4 separate regions of the Homo sapiens genome follow, and all the other regions are linked to region 3. Evidence: promoter capture Hi-C in 16 types of primary human blood cells and fetal thymus (Javierre and others, 2016). All regions are on one chromosome and are shown on one strand. The core of a region is centred on a gene start or on the middle of the fragment in contact, and the rest is flanking DNA. Distances in the headings are between cores, read along the strand shown.

Region 1 (2,700 bases), core at 45-2,544, 630 kb after region 3:
CAAGTGATTCTCCTGCCTCAGCCTCCCGAATAGCTGAAATTATAGGCGCCCACCACCACGCCCGGCTAATTTTTGTATTTTTGGTAGAGACGGAGTTTTGCCATGTTGGCCAGGCTGGTCTTGAACTCCTGACCTCAAGTGATCCACCTTTGGTAGTTGCTTAATTTCAATCTCTCCCTCTCCACTGTGAGCCTCAGGAGGCAGGAGTTTGTCCCATCTGTGCTTTACTGTACCGGCAGCACCTGGAAGGTAGGCGCTTAACCTAGAACTTGTTGAATGTACCAACCAACACATGCTTTGCCTCCATTCAGTTAAATGATAGGCACAGCAGAAAAAAAAAAAAAACAGTGATTATCCACTCATCCATATGGAAGCCCTAGCTTTTTCTTGGAGAAACTTCGAGTCTCACAGCTGCACCCTCTGGCCAGTCTTCACCCACTCTCCCTGCCACCCCCTCAATTAGTTAAACTCCCCTGCAGACCTGCACTGTCCAGTATGGTCACCAATGGCCACAAGTGGTCTCTGAGCCCTTGAAATGGGACTGGCTGAAATTAGGTTGTGCTGGAAAGGTAAAATACAGAGTGGATTTTGGAGACATAGCAGGAAGGGAACAAGGAAAAATATTTCTTTTTTTTTTTTTGAGATGGAGTGATCTCAGCTCACTGCAACCTCTGCCTCCCAGGTTCACGTGATTATTCTGCCTCAGCCTCCCAAGTAGCTGGGGCTACAGGCACCCACCGCCACGCCTGACTAACTTTTGCATTTTTAGTAGAGACGGGGTTTCACCATATTGGCAGGCTGGTCTCAAACTCCTGACCTTATGATCTGCCTGCCTTGGCCTCCCAAAGTGCTGGGATTCCAGGCGTGAGCCACCACGCCCGGCCTAAAATATTTCATTAAGAATGTTTTCCATCCTGGCTAACACAGTGAAACCCCTTCTCTACTAAAAATACAAAAAATTAGCCGGGCATGGTGGCAGGCGCCTATAGTCCCAGCTACTAGGGAGGCTAGGGCAGGAGAATGGTGGGAACCCAGGAGGCAGAGGTTGCAGTGAGCCAAGATTGCGCCACTGCACTCCAGCCTGGGGGACAGAGTGAGACTCCAAAAAAAAAAAAAAAAGAATGTTTTGGCCAGGCGCGGTGGTTCACGCCTGGAATCCCAGCACTTTGGGATGGTGAGGTGGGAAGATCACTTGAGCCCAGGAGTTTGAGACCAGCATGGGCAACATGGCGAAAACCCATCTCTATTAAAAAATAAGAAAATCAGCTGGGCGTGGTGGCACAAGCCAGTAGTCCCAGCTACTCTGGAGGCTGTGACAGGAGGATCTCTCGAGCCCAAGAGGTTCAGGCTACAGTGAGATATGATTGTATCACTGTGCTCCAGCCGGAGTGACAGTGTGACCGTCTCAGGAAAACAAACAAACAAACAAAAAAACAGAAAACGAGGCCGGGCAAGGTGTCTCACACCTGTAATCCCAGCACTTTCGAAGACTGAGACAGGCGGATCACCTGAGGTCTGGAGTTCAAGACCAGCCTGGCCAACATGGTGAAACCCCGTCTCTACTAAAAATACAAAAATTAGGGCCGGGCACAGTGGCTCACGCCTGTAATCCCAGCACTTCGGGAGGCCGAGGCGGGCGGATCATGAGGTCAGGAGATGCAGACCATCCTGGTTAACACGGTGAAACCCCGTCTTTATTAAAAATACAAAAAAATTAGCCTGGCGTGGGGGCGGGCACCTGTAGTCCCAGCTACTCCGGAGGCTGAGGCAGGAGAATGGCGTGAACCCGGGAGGTGGAGCTTGCAGTGAGCTGAGATCGCGCCACTGCACTCCAGCCTGGGCAATAGAGCAAGACTCCGCCTCAAAAAACAAAACAAAACAAAACAAAACAAAAATCAGCTGGGCGTGGTGGCGGGCGCCTGTAATCCCAGCTGCTTGCGAGGCTGAGGCAGGAGAATCACTTGAACCCAGGAGGCGGAGTTTGCAGTGAGCCAAGATTGCACCACGGCACTCCAGCCTGGGCAACAAAGTGAGACTCTGTCTCAAAAAAAAAAAAAAAAAGACAGAACAAAAGAAAGCAAATGTTTAGTGTTGTTAACATGTTGAAATTATATTTTAGATAAACTTGGTTTAATAAAATACATTATTAAAATTGATTTCATATATTTTCTTTTACATGGTTTCAGGACATTTAAATTACGTATGTAGGCTGGGTACAGTGGCTCAGGGCTGTAATCCCAGCACTTTGGAAGGCCGAGGCGGGCAGATCATCTGAGGTCAGGAGTTTAAGACCAGCTTAGGCGGGGCGCGGTGGCTCACTCCTGTAATCCCAGCACTTTGGGAGGCCGAGGAGGGCGGATCGCAAGGTCAGGAGTTTGAGACCAGCCTGGCCAACATAGTGAAACCCCGTCTCTACTAAAAATACAAAAAATTAGCTGGGCCTGGTGGCGGGTGCCTGTAATCCCAGCTACTTGGGAGGCTGAGGCAGGAGAATGGCGTGAACCCGGGAGGTGGAGGTTGAAGTAAGCTGAGATCACAGTGTTGCACTCCAGCCTGGGCGACAGAACGAGACTCCGTCTCAAAAAAAGAAAAAAAAAAAAAAAGACCAGCTTGGCCAACATGGTGAAACCTGTCTCTACTAAAAATACAAAAAATTAGCCAGGCATGGTGGTGCGTGCCTGTAATCCCAGCTACGTGGGA
Region 2 (2,700 bases), core at 121-2,620, 590 kb after region 3:
GCCGCTCCGGGAAGCCTCTGTCCTCTCCTGCCCCGGCTCTGGCAGTGACCCAGACACAGCATCTCCATTCATCCAAAAGGCAGGAAGGCCCCGAGGAAACTGCTTCTCGGGGAGCCAGGGACGTTTAGACAACCACGGGCTTTCTCGCCGTCCTTTGGATCCCATCCCTCACTCTATTTGACGACTGGGAGCCTCTTCAGTGGCGCAAGATCCCAGACACGCCCTGGCCACGTCCCCTGGCGAGTGTCCACGCACAGACCACCCCCACTCCGTTTTTCTTCTCTTGGCCAGAGCCCCGCCCACCGAGGTCGAGTCTAAACCCGGGGTTCCCGCTTTTGATCGGGGTGTCTTCCCCATCCAGCTGCACCAACACCTGCCACAGCCTCCCATGCTCAGCAATTTGGAGACAAGGACCCCCAACATTGGTGTCTGGAGCCAGGGCGCCCCCCACCCCCATCTTGGCCCTTCCTAGGGGCTCAAGGACCCTGCAGTCAGGGGTGGGCAGGGGTCAGTGGCCCCAACCAGGTCCTAAATCAAACGTCCTAGCTAGGTGCCCTTCCCCCCTGCCCCCCACCCACGGAGTCTCGCTCTGTCGCCCAGGCTGGAGTGCAGTGGGGCGATCTCGGCTCACTGCAAGCTCCACCTCCAGGGTTCACGCCATTCTCCTGCCTCAGCCTCCCTAGTAGCTGGGACTACAGGCGCCCGTCACCACGCCTGGCTAATTTTTTGTTATATCTTTAGTAGAGACGGGGTTTTACCGTGTTAGTCAGGATGGTCTCAATCTCCTGACCTCGTGATCCGCCCGCCTCGGCCTCCCAAAGTGCTGGGATTACAGACGTGAGCCACCGCGCCCGGCCGCTGGGTGCCCTTTCTTTCCACTTTGCAACCTCAGTTTTCTCATCTGTAAAATGGAAAAGATAATCCTACCAACTCATAGGGCTGTGGTGACGATTAAATGACAGCGGTAACGCATTCAGCCCTGTGTTCCCTCATGGTGAGCTGTCCATCTCTGTTTTGAAATATTTACATAAGGCCGGGTGCGGTGGCTCACGCCTGTAATCCCAGCACTTTGGGAGGCTGAGGCGGGCAGACCACCTGAGGTCAGGTGTTCGAGACCAGCCTGGCCAACATGGTGAAACCCCGTCTCTACTAAAAAATACAAAAATTAGCCCGGTGTGGTGGCGCATGCCTGTAATCCCAGCTACTTGGGAGGCTGAGCCAGGAGAATCGCTTGAACCCGGGAGGTGGAGGTTGGAGTGAGCCCAGATCGCGCTACTGCACTCCAGCCTGGGCAACAGAGAAAGACCAAAAAAAAAAAAAGGGAAATATTTACATAATTACCATGGAATGAAGCCAGCAGTCGCTCCCATCCCACCCCTCGCTTGGCGCTGCACCCAGAAATAAGGCCAGACATTTTTTTTTTTTTTTTTTTTTTTTGCGGAGGAAACGAGGTTGAGGGTGTGAGTGGCTCTGGAGATGCACCCCAGTCTCAAAATAAAATTAAAAAGAAAAATTTCTGTTCAATCTTTGAAAAAAAAAAAGGAAAAGGACATGTAATACACCGTTCAATAAATAGAAAAAAAGTTACAAAATGATGTGGTATTTTGTCCTTAATATACAAGAAGGGAAAAGATGTGGGGGTGACTTGGGGGGGTGATGTTCTCCCTTCTCCTCCCTGGGTCAAGGTGGGGGAAAGGAAGGATGGCCAAAGAGAGAGGGCGGCAGGGACTTAGGTGCAGAGAGAAAGGCAGGTAAGTGCCGGGAAAAATGGAAACAGAGTAAGATGAAGGGGCGAAGCAGAAAGACAGGAGGCGAAAGGGTGAAAAAGCCAGAAAAACACCAAGATACAGGTCTCTTTCCTTTCCAGATCGGGGGTGGGGGTCTCCGGCTCTCTCGCGTCTGTGTCCCCCAACCCCAGGTTGGAAGGGGCAGTGTGAGCCTCGCTCAGTTCCTGAGTTGTACGTCCAGTGACTAGCAGGTGAGAAGAGAGGGCAGCGAGGACTTCCCCAACCCTGAGCCCACCCTGGGACCCTAGTGCCCAAGGAAATGGGGGTCCTGGCCGGATAGGATAAGGGGGTGAGGTATGAGGCTGAGGCCTGAGGCCTCTTCAATTCCTTCAGTGGGGGTGAGCCAATGGTCCTGGCTGGGCAGCCACTTTGGAGGTGGCATAATGGGGGGCCCTGAGCAGTAGGGGGTGGGGGAGGACCCTTGGCCACCCAGGGTGGGGTTGGGGGAAAATGTGCTACATTGACTTAGAGGGTCGATTTCTGGAAAGTCCTGCCTCCCAGCCTCCCTCCTGGAGCCCAAGCCAGTCTGGGTAAGGGGAGTTTGCCTATTGCTTTTGGGGTGCCCAAAGTGGGGTCATACCAGCAGCCCAAGCACACACCCCTTCCAGGCTTCTGGGTGGCAGTATGGCTTCTGCTTCTGGAGTCTTGCACACTTGCTCACAGACTCCCAGGCACACACGTGGCAGGATGCTGCTCCCCCTGCCCCCATCTCCAGCCGGGCTCCTTCCCTGACTTAATAATACTGAAATGCCACGTGGGCCTAATTGGAGAGCAAGGGTGGGGGACGCAGGGGCGAGGGGGATCCCCACTCCCACGCACCCCACTGTCCCTCAACCAAAACGCTCCCGCACCAAAAGCATGAGTTTCTTCTTGCCCTTGTAGGTCTGTTTGAGGTTCTCCAAGAACTGTGAGA
Region 3 (2,700 bases), core at 1-2,500:
CTTTACCAAATTTTTAAAAATTAGCTGGGCATGATAGGTAACAAGAGTGACACCCTGAAGAAAGAAAGAAGAAAGTGGAGGGAAAGAGGGAGGAAGGATGATAGGAAAATAAATCTGCCAGGATCTAATAAAGCTTAGTGACCATGCCACCATGCCACTCCTAAGTATTTAAAAGAAATGAAAATTTATCTTCCCCAAAATACTCTTACAGTACAAGCTCTATTAACAGTGGCCAAAGACCGGAAACAATCAATTGGCCAAGAACAGGTGAGTGAAACTATATTGGCTACATTATAGTATAGCCACACAATGAAATACCACTCAGCAGTAAAAAATAACGAGCTGTTGATATCCCCACAACATGGACAACTCTCAAAAACACTTTGCTGCGGCCAGGCAGGGTGGCTCATGTAATCCCAGCACTTTGGGAGGCGGAGATGGGCAGATCACATGAGGCCAGGAGTTCGAGACCAGCCTGGCCAACATGGCGAAACCCCTCTCTACTAAAAATATGAAAATTAGCCAGGTGTGGTGGCGGGCGCCAGCAGTCCCAGCTACTCAGGAGGCTGAGGCAGGAGAATCGCTTGAACCCGAGAGGCGGAGGTTGTGGTGAGCAGAGATCGCGCCACTGCACTCCAGCCTAGGTGACAGAGCCAGACTCCGTCTCAAAAAAACAGCTTTGTTGAGCAAAAGTCAGACACAAAAGACAACCTATTGCATGCTTCTACTAACGTGAAAATCAAGGAGACAAAACTATCGTGGAGCGATAGAAATCCAAATACTGCAAAATGTTCTGTCCATTTGAGTCATTCCAAGCTCCCTATTCTTTTCAGAGCCTACACTGTGGAGGACCCCCAGGCCGCAGATTGATAGCAACTGGGACAGTTCTGGTTTCAGCGCCCAGCGCAGACGCCACTCTTCGAAAAGGTGGGGCACACGCCAAAACGCAATCATCCGGTCTTCAGTTATCAGTACTAAACATGGCGGCTCCCACCGAGCACCACACCCAGATCACGAGACCGCGCGCTGTCGGAGCCAGTCTGTCGGCTCACTGGGGCGCGCCTACTTTTAGATTGACCAATAAACGCGAGGCGTAAGGCACGCCCTCTTTCTTCCCGTCTCCGCCAATAATCTCCCGGTCCCTTCCACAGGACCCAATCACCGCTTCGGCCTCTCTTGAATGAAAAGGCAGCGGCCCAGTCAGCAGAGCAGCAGCCCGACGCAAGAGGCAGGAAGCGCAGCAACTCGTGTCTGAGCGCCCGGCGGAAAACCGAAGTTGGAAGTGTCTCTTAGCAGCGCGCGGAGAAGAACGGGGAGCCAGGTGAGCAGCGGATCCCGGGCGCGGGGCCGCGGTGTGGGGACGTCTGAACTGAGAGCGAGAGGACGAGGGGAGACGTTGGGATCTAAGGGGAGGGGGAGAAAGGGTCGCGAGACGGTGGGGGCGGGGCGGTTGGTGTGTCAGAGCGCTGTGTGTTGGCCGTTGGGCACCGGGGCGCATGCGCTAGGGGTGGGCCAGCCGTTGGCGCGCGGTGCTCGGGGCTCGGGGCCCGCTTCTCGGAGGGGCTGTCATGGCCTACGGCGCTCCGAGCCCCACTTGGAGTCTGTCAGTTCGTCCGAATAGACCCCGCGGCGGCCTGGGGCCATTTGGAGAGGGACGAGGGGGTGACGCCGGGGTCTGGGGCCTGGGTGGGAGAAGTTGGAGCTTTCAGTTGTCAGGGGTTTCTTTGGGTCCGAGGGACTTGATCCCTTTCCCAGTCTACCTTCTTCTTGGTCTACTTTTTACGGGATTCGGGATTCTGAGATTTAGAGCAAATAAGACTTTATTTTGGAAGGCCGGGCGCGGTGGCTCTTGTAATCTCAGTACTTTGGGAGAGACCAAGGAGGGCGGATCACTTGAGGTCAGGAGTTCGAGACCAGCCTGGCCAACATGGTGAAACCTCGTCTCTACTCAAAATACAAAAAAAAATCAGCCGAGCGTGGTGGCGAGCGCCTGTGGTCCCAGCTACTCGGGAGGCTGAGGCACGAGAATCGCTTGAACCCGGGAGGTGGAGGTTACAGTGAGCCGAGATCGCGACACTGCACTCCAGCCTGGGTGACAGAGCGAGATTCTGCCTCAAAAAAAACAGAATGAAAAAAAGATTTTCTTTTGGAAATAGGAGTCCCCAGGTGGGAATAAACTCCGGGGTGGAAAGCCTGCCTGGGGACACTTGAGGGTAACTGGGTACACGTGGCGTGTCTGGGTTGTGAGTTCCCCGCTGTCACCTTTCAAGTTCATGCGCTCCTGGCGCCTTAGCGGTCATGGCCACCCACTTTGGGCGGGGAAAACCCCGCCGGATCCTTTCCTGATCTAATCAGTTTTGAGCTTTAGATCCTGTCCAGCCCGGTTTCTCGAAAATTTTATCTTAGCAGATTCGGTTCACCCCAATTTATTTATCTCTCTCTCTCTTTTTTTTTTTTTTTTTTTTTTTTTGAGACAGAGCCTTGCTCTGTCGCCCAGGCTGGAGTGCAGTGACACTATCTCGGCTCACTGCAGCCTCCGTCTTCCGGGTTCAAGCAAGCACATCCGGCTAATTTTTGTATTTGTAGTAGAGACGGGGTTTCACCATGTTGCCCAGGCTTGTCTCTAATTCCCGACTTCAAGTGATCCGCCCGCTTCGCCTCCCAAAGTGCTGGGATTACAGGCATGAGCCACCACGCTGG
Region 4 (2,700 bases), core at 125-2,624, 510 kb after region 3:
CAGCCTCCCGAGTAGCTGGGATTACAGGTGCCCGCCACCATGCCCAGCTAATTTTTGTATTTTTAGTAGAGATGGGGTTTCGCCATGGCCTCCCAAAGTGCTGGGATTACAGGTGTGAGACACCACCCCGGACTTCCATTTTTAATTTTTTATCTTTATTTTAGAGAAAGAGTCTTGTTCTGTCACCCAGGCTGGAGCAGAAGTAGCGCAATCATAGCTCACTGCGGTCTTGAACTCCTGGGCTCAAGCAATCCTCCCTTCTTAGCCTCCCAAGTAGTAGTACTACAGGCACATGCCACCATGCCCAGTTAGTCTTTTTTTGTCGAGACGGGGGTCTTGCTTTTGCCCAGGCTGGTCTCAAACTCTGGCCTCAAATGACTCTCCCACCTCTGCCTCCGCCTCCATCTCCTGAAGTGCTGGGATTATAGAGATCTCCATTTTACAGATGAGAAAGCTGAGGCTCAGAGCTGTAAAGTCAAGTGTCCGATGTACAGAGGCCAGGAGGGAACTTCAGGTCAGCCAGACTCTAATATCTGAACACCAAGCTATGTCCTGGGCTCCTTCCATCAAAACTGAGAAAAATCAAACTATCTGGTGCCTGGGGCAAAGAAGTCGGGAGAGTGAGAAGGGGTCCAGCCACAGTGCCATAAGCTTATGGCTGCAGCCCTGGATTTGTGCTTAGCCCTGGCCAAGCTGTTAATCCCTATGACCTTGGGCAGATGTCTTCACGTCTCTGAGTCTCAAAGTCCTCATCTGTACAATGGAATAAAAAGAGTCTGACATGGCCCGACTGATGCAAGGGTTTGATGTGTCAAGTCCGAGGACTGCCCCTCCTCGACTGGAGCAGCTGTGGCAACAGGTGGCCCCGAACCCGGGGCAGGGCCCCAGGAGCTGGGGAGCCAAGGCCAGTAGGCCACACTTGGGTGGTGTTGGAGCCTCACCTGGGGGGAGGCGGGGACCGGGGCTTACCTGTGGGGCGGAGATCGGGCTTCCCTGGGGGGTGGGGCCCTTCCCTGAGCGAGTGACGGGGGTGGGGAGGGATCCCCAGGTCGGGCCGTGGGGCGCAAACTCACCTGGCGGGCGGCCGCGGCGCCTCTGCCCGGGGGTCCCGGGGGTCCTTTCCTCTTGTGCATCTTCAAGGCTGGATGCCCGGACCACCTGCCCCCAAGCCCGGCCTTGCCCTGCCTCCTTCCCCGGGCTCTGTCGCCGCGCACTCGCCCTTCCTGAGTCCTGCACTCCTCGTCGGCGCCCCGCGGCCGTCGATCCCGAGCCCTCGCTTCCCTGCTTGGCCGTCCCACTTCCGCCTCGGGCCTCGGGCGCCGCCGCACCGGAGCGCGGCCACTGGGCTCGCCGGGTCTGCCGAGCCGAAACTACAACTCCCGGCAGGTAGTGCGTGGGCGCGCAGGCGCCTGGCTGGGGCGGTGCTGACTGTCGCGGGCTGCGAGGGCGGTGTTTGCGTCGCTCATGCGCGGGGCGGGACCTCGCGGGGCGCGGGAAAGAGGCAGAGCGCGCGCAGGTGTGAGGGGCGGCGACATCTGTGGGGTTCAGAGCGTCTGTCAGTCACCGACGGGCTCCGGCTTCACGTGGGCTCTCGGCCTGTGGAGTCCTCACTTCTCGGTGGTCGGCGTAGTGTCAGTGTGGGGCTTGTCACCGGGAGCGGGGTCTACAGCGCCCACCCTCAGGCCTTTCCATCTTTCACCTCCGGACTCGAGGCCTCCAGCGTTCTGTGAGGGCCAATTTGGCCATTTATTTTTTCCAAAAAGAGTAACGCGGATAATTCAAGCGACTTATTCCCAACTGATCCAGGCAGAGCTCGTTTCTGATAAGGACAGAGGGTCCTCAACGACTTCTGTGGCCCAGGTCCGTTCTGGTTTGCCTCGCCCCCAAGGCTGGGAGAAACCGGCCTATGGCAGCTCTTTCCCCTCCAAGGACCCAGCTGTCCCCTTTAAAGTGGCACGATCTTGGCTCATTGCAACCTCTGCCTCCTGGCCTTGTACCACAGCCTCCTGAGTAGCTGGGATTACGGGTGTGTGCCACCGCACCTGACTAATTTTTTTTTTTTTTTTTGAGACGGAGTCTCGCTCTGTCGCCCAGGCTGGAGTGCAGTAGAGCGATCTCGGCTCACTGCAACCTCTGCCTCATGGGTTCAAGGAATTCTACTGTCTCAGCCTCCCAAGTAGCTGGGATTACAGGTGTGCGTCACGATGCCCAGGCTAATTTTTGTGTTTTTAATAGAGAGGGGGTTTCACCATATTGGCCAGGCTGGTCTCCAGAGGCCCCTGGAGAGTCCTCAAGTGTCCTTGGAAGGGCCCCCAGATACCCCAGTCTGGAGGGAGGGGCTTCACACAGGCTGTTTCATCCTAGGGACCAGAGTCTGGGTCCCCGGGGCTATCTATAAGGACCCCCCAGGGCCCATTTGTCTTTCAGGTCCTGGGCATAAGATCTTCAGTTTGGAGGAGGTTTGAATTCCTACCTGGCCATGGCCCAAAGTGGCTGTGACTCTGTGTCCCATCCTGTGTCCCAGTGGGAGCCATCTGACCCCTGGGGCAGCCAAATGGGCTGAGGTGGAGGTAGGGGTAACCTCTGCTCTCAGCCAAAGCCACTGGATATAAACAGAGACAGAGACTGCTTATAATGATGAGAGATTTTGCTTGTTTTCAGATTTCTCAAGGGGAAGATAAAATGACTAAGAGGAAGAAG

The links. The method cuts DNA at HindIII sites, captures the fragments that hold promoters and counts their contacts. A CHiCAGO score of 5 or more calls a contact.
Region 1: a contact is called between a fragment that was not itself captured here and the fragment with the promoter of DDX39A in region 3, in 1 of 17 cell types (non-activated CD4 T cells). The highest score is 7.4, in non-activated CD4 T cells.
Region 2: a contact is called between a fragment that was not itself captured here and the fragment with the promoter of DDX39A in region 3, in 1 of 17 cell types (activated CD4 T cells). The highest score is 5.3, in activated CD4 T cells.
Region 4: the fragment with the promoter of CC2D1A here is called in contact with the fragment with the promoter of DDX39A in region 3 in 7 of 17 cell types (total CD8 T cells, naive CD4 T cells, naive CD8 T cells and 4 more); the score reaches 9.9 in total CD8 T cells.

What each region holds. Positions count from the first base shown.
Region 1 is chr19:13,791,661-13,794,360 of GRCh38, reverse strand. No RefSeq gene overlaps it. Among named protein-coding and RNA genes, the nearest start is that of ZSWIM4, 2.4 kb to the left of the region's middle. The HindIII fragment of the contact is 9,824 bases long and covers 1-2,700 here.
Region 2 is chr19:13,830,968-13,833,667 of GRCh38, reverse strand. ZSWIM4 (zinc finger SWIM-type containing 4) reads right to left here. Exons shown (of 14, transcript NM_001367834.3): 14 at 1,414-2,700. The coding sequence ends at 2,618. Among named protein-coding and RNA genes, the nearest start is that of MIR24-2, 4.0 kb to the left of the region's middle. RefSeq lists enhancers at 95-144, 195-244. The HindIII fragment of the contact is 4,589 bases long and covers 1-2,700 here.
Region 3 is chr19:14,417,891-14,420,590 of GRCh38, reverse strand. It overlaps DDX39A (DExD-box helicase 39A), which reads left to right and starts at 1,250. Exons shown (of 11, transcript NM_005804.4): 1 at 1,250-1,321. RefSeq lists a silencer at 1,421-1,520 and enhancers at 1,641-1,780, 2,191-2,250, 2,621-2,670. The HindIII fragment of the contact is 5,494 bases long and covers 136-2,700 here.
Region 4 is chr19:13,904,875-13,907,574 of GRCh38, reverse strand. It overlaps CC2D1A (coiled-coil and C2 domain containing 1A), which reads right to left and starts at 1,374. Exons shown (of 29, transcript NM_017721.5): 1 at 1,074-1,374. The coding sequence starts at 1,133. BRME1 (break repair meiotic recombinase recruitment factor 1) reads left to right here and starts at 1,458. Exons shown (of 9, transcript NM_001345843.2): 1 at 1,458-1,860; 2 at 2,662-2,700. The coding sequence starts at 2,683. RefSeq lists a silencer at 1,000-1,059. The HindIII fragment of the contact is 3,878 bases long and covers 654-2,700 here.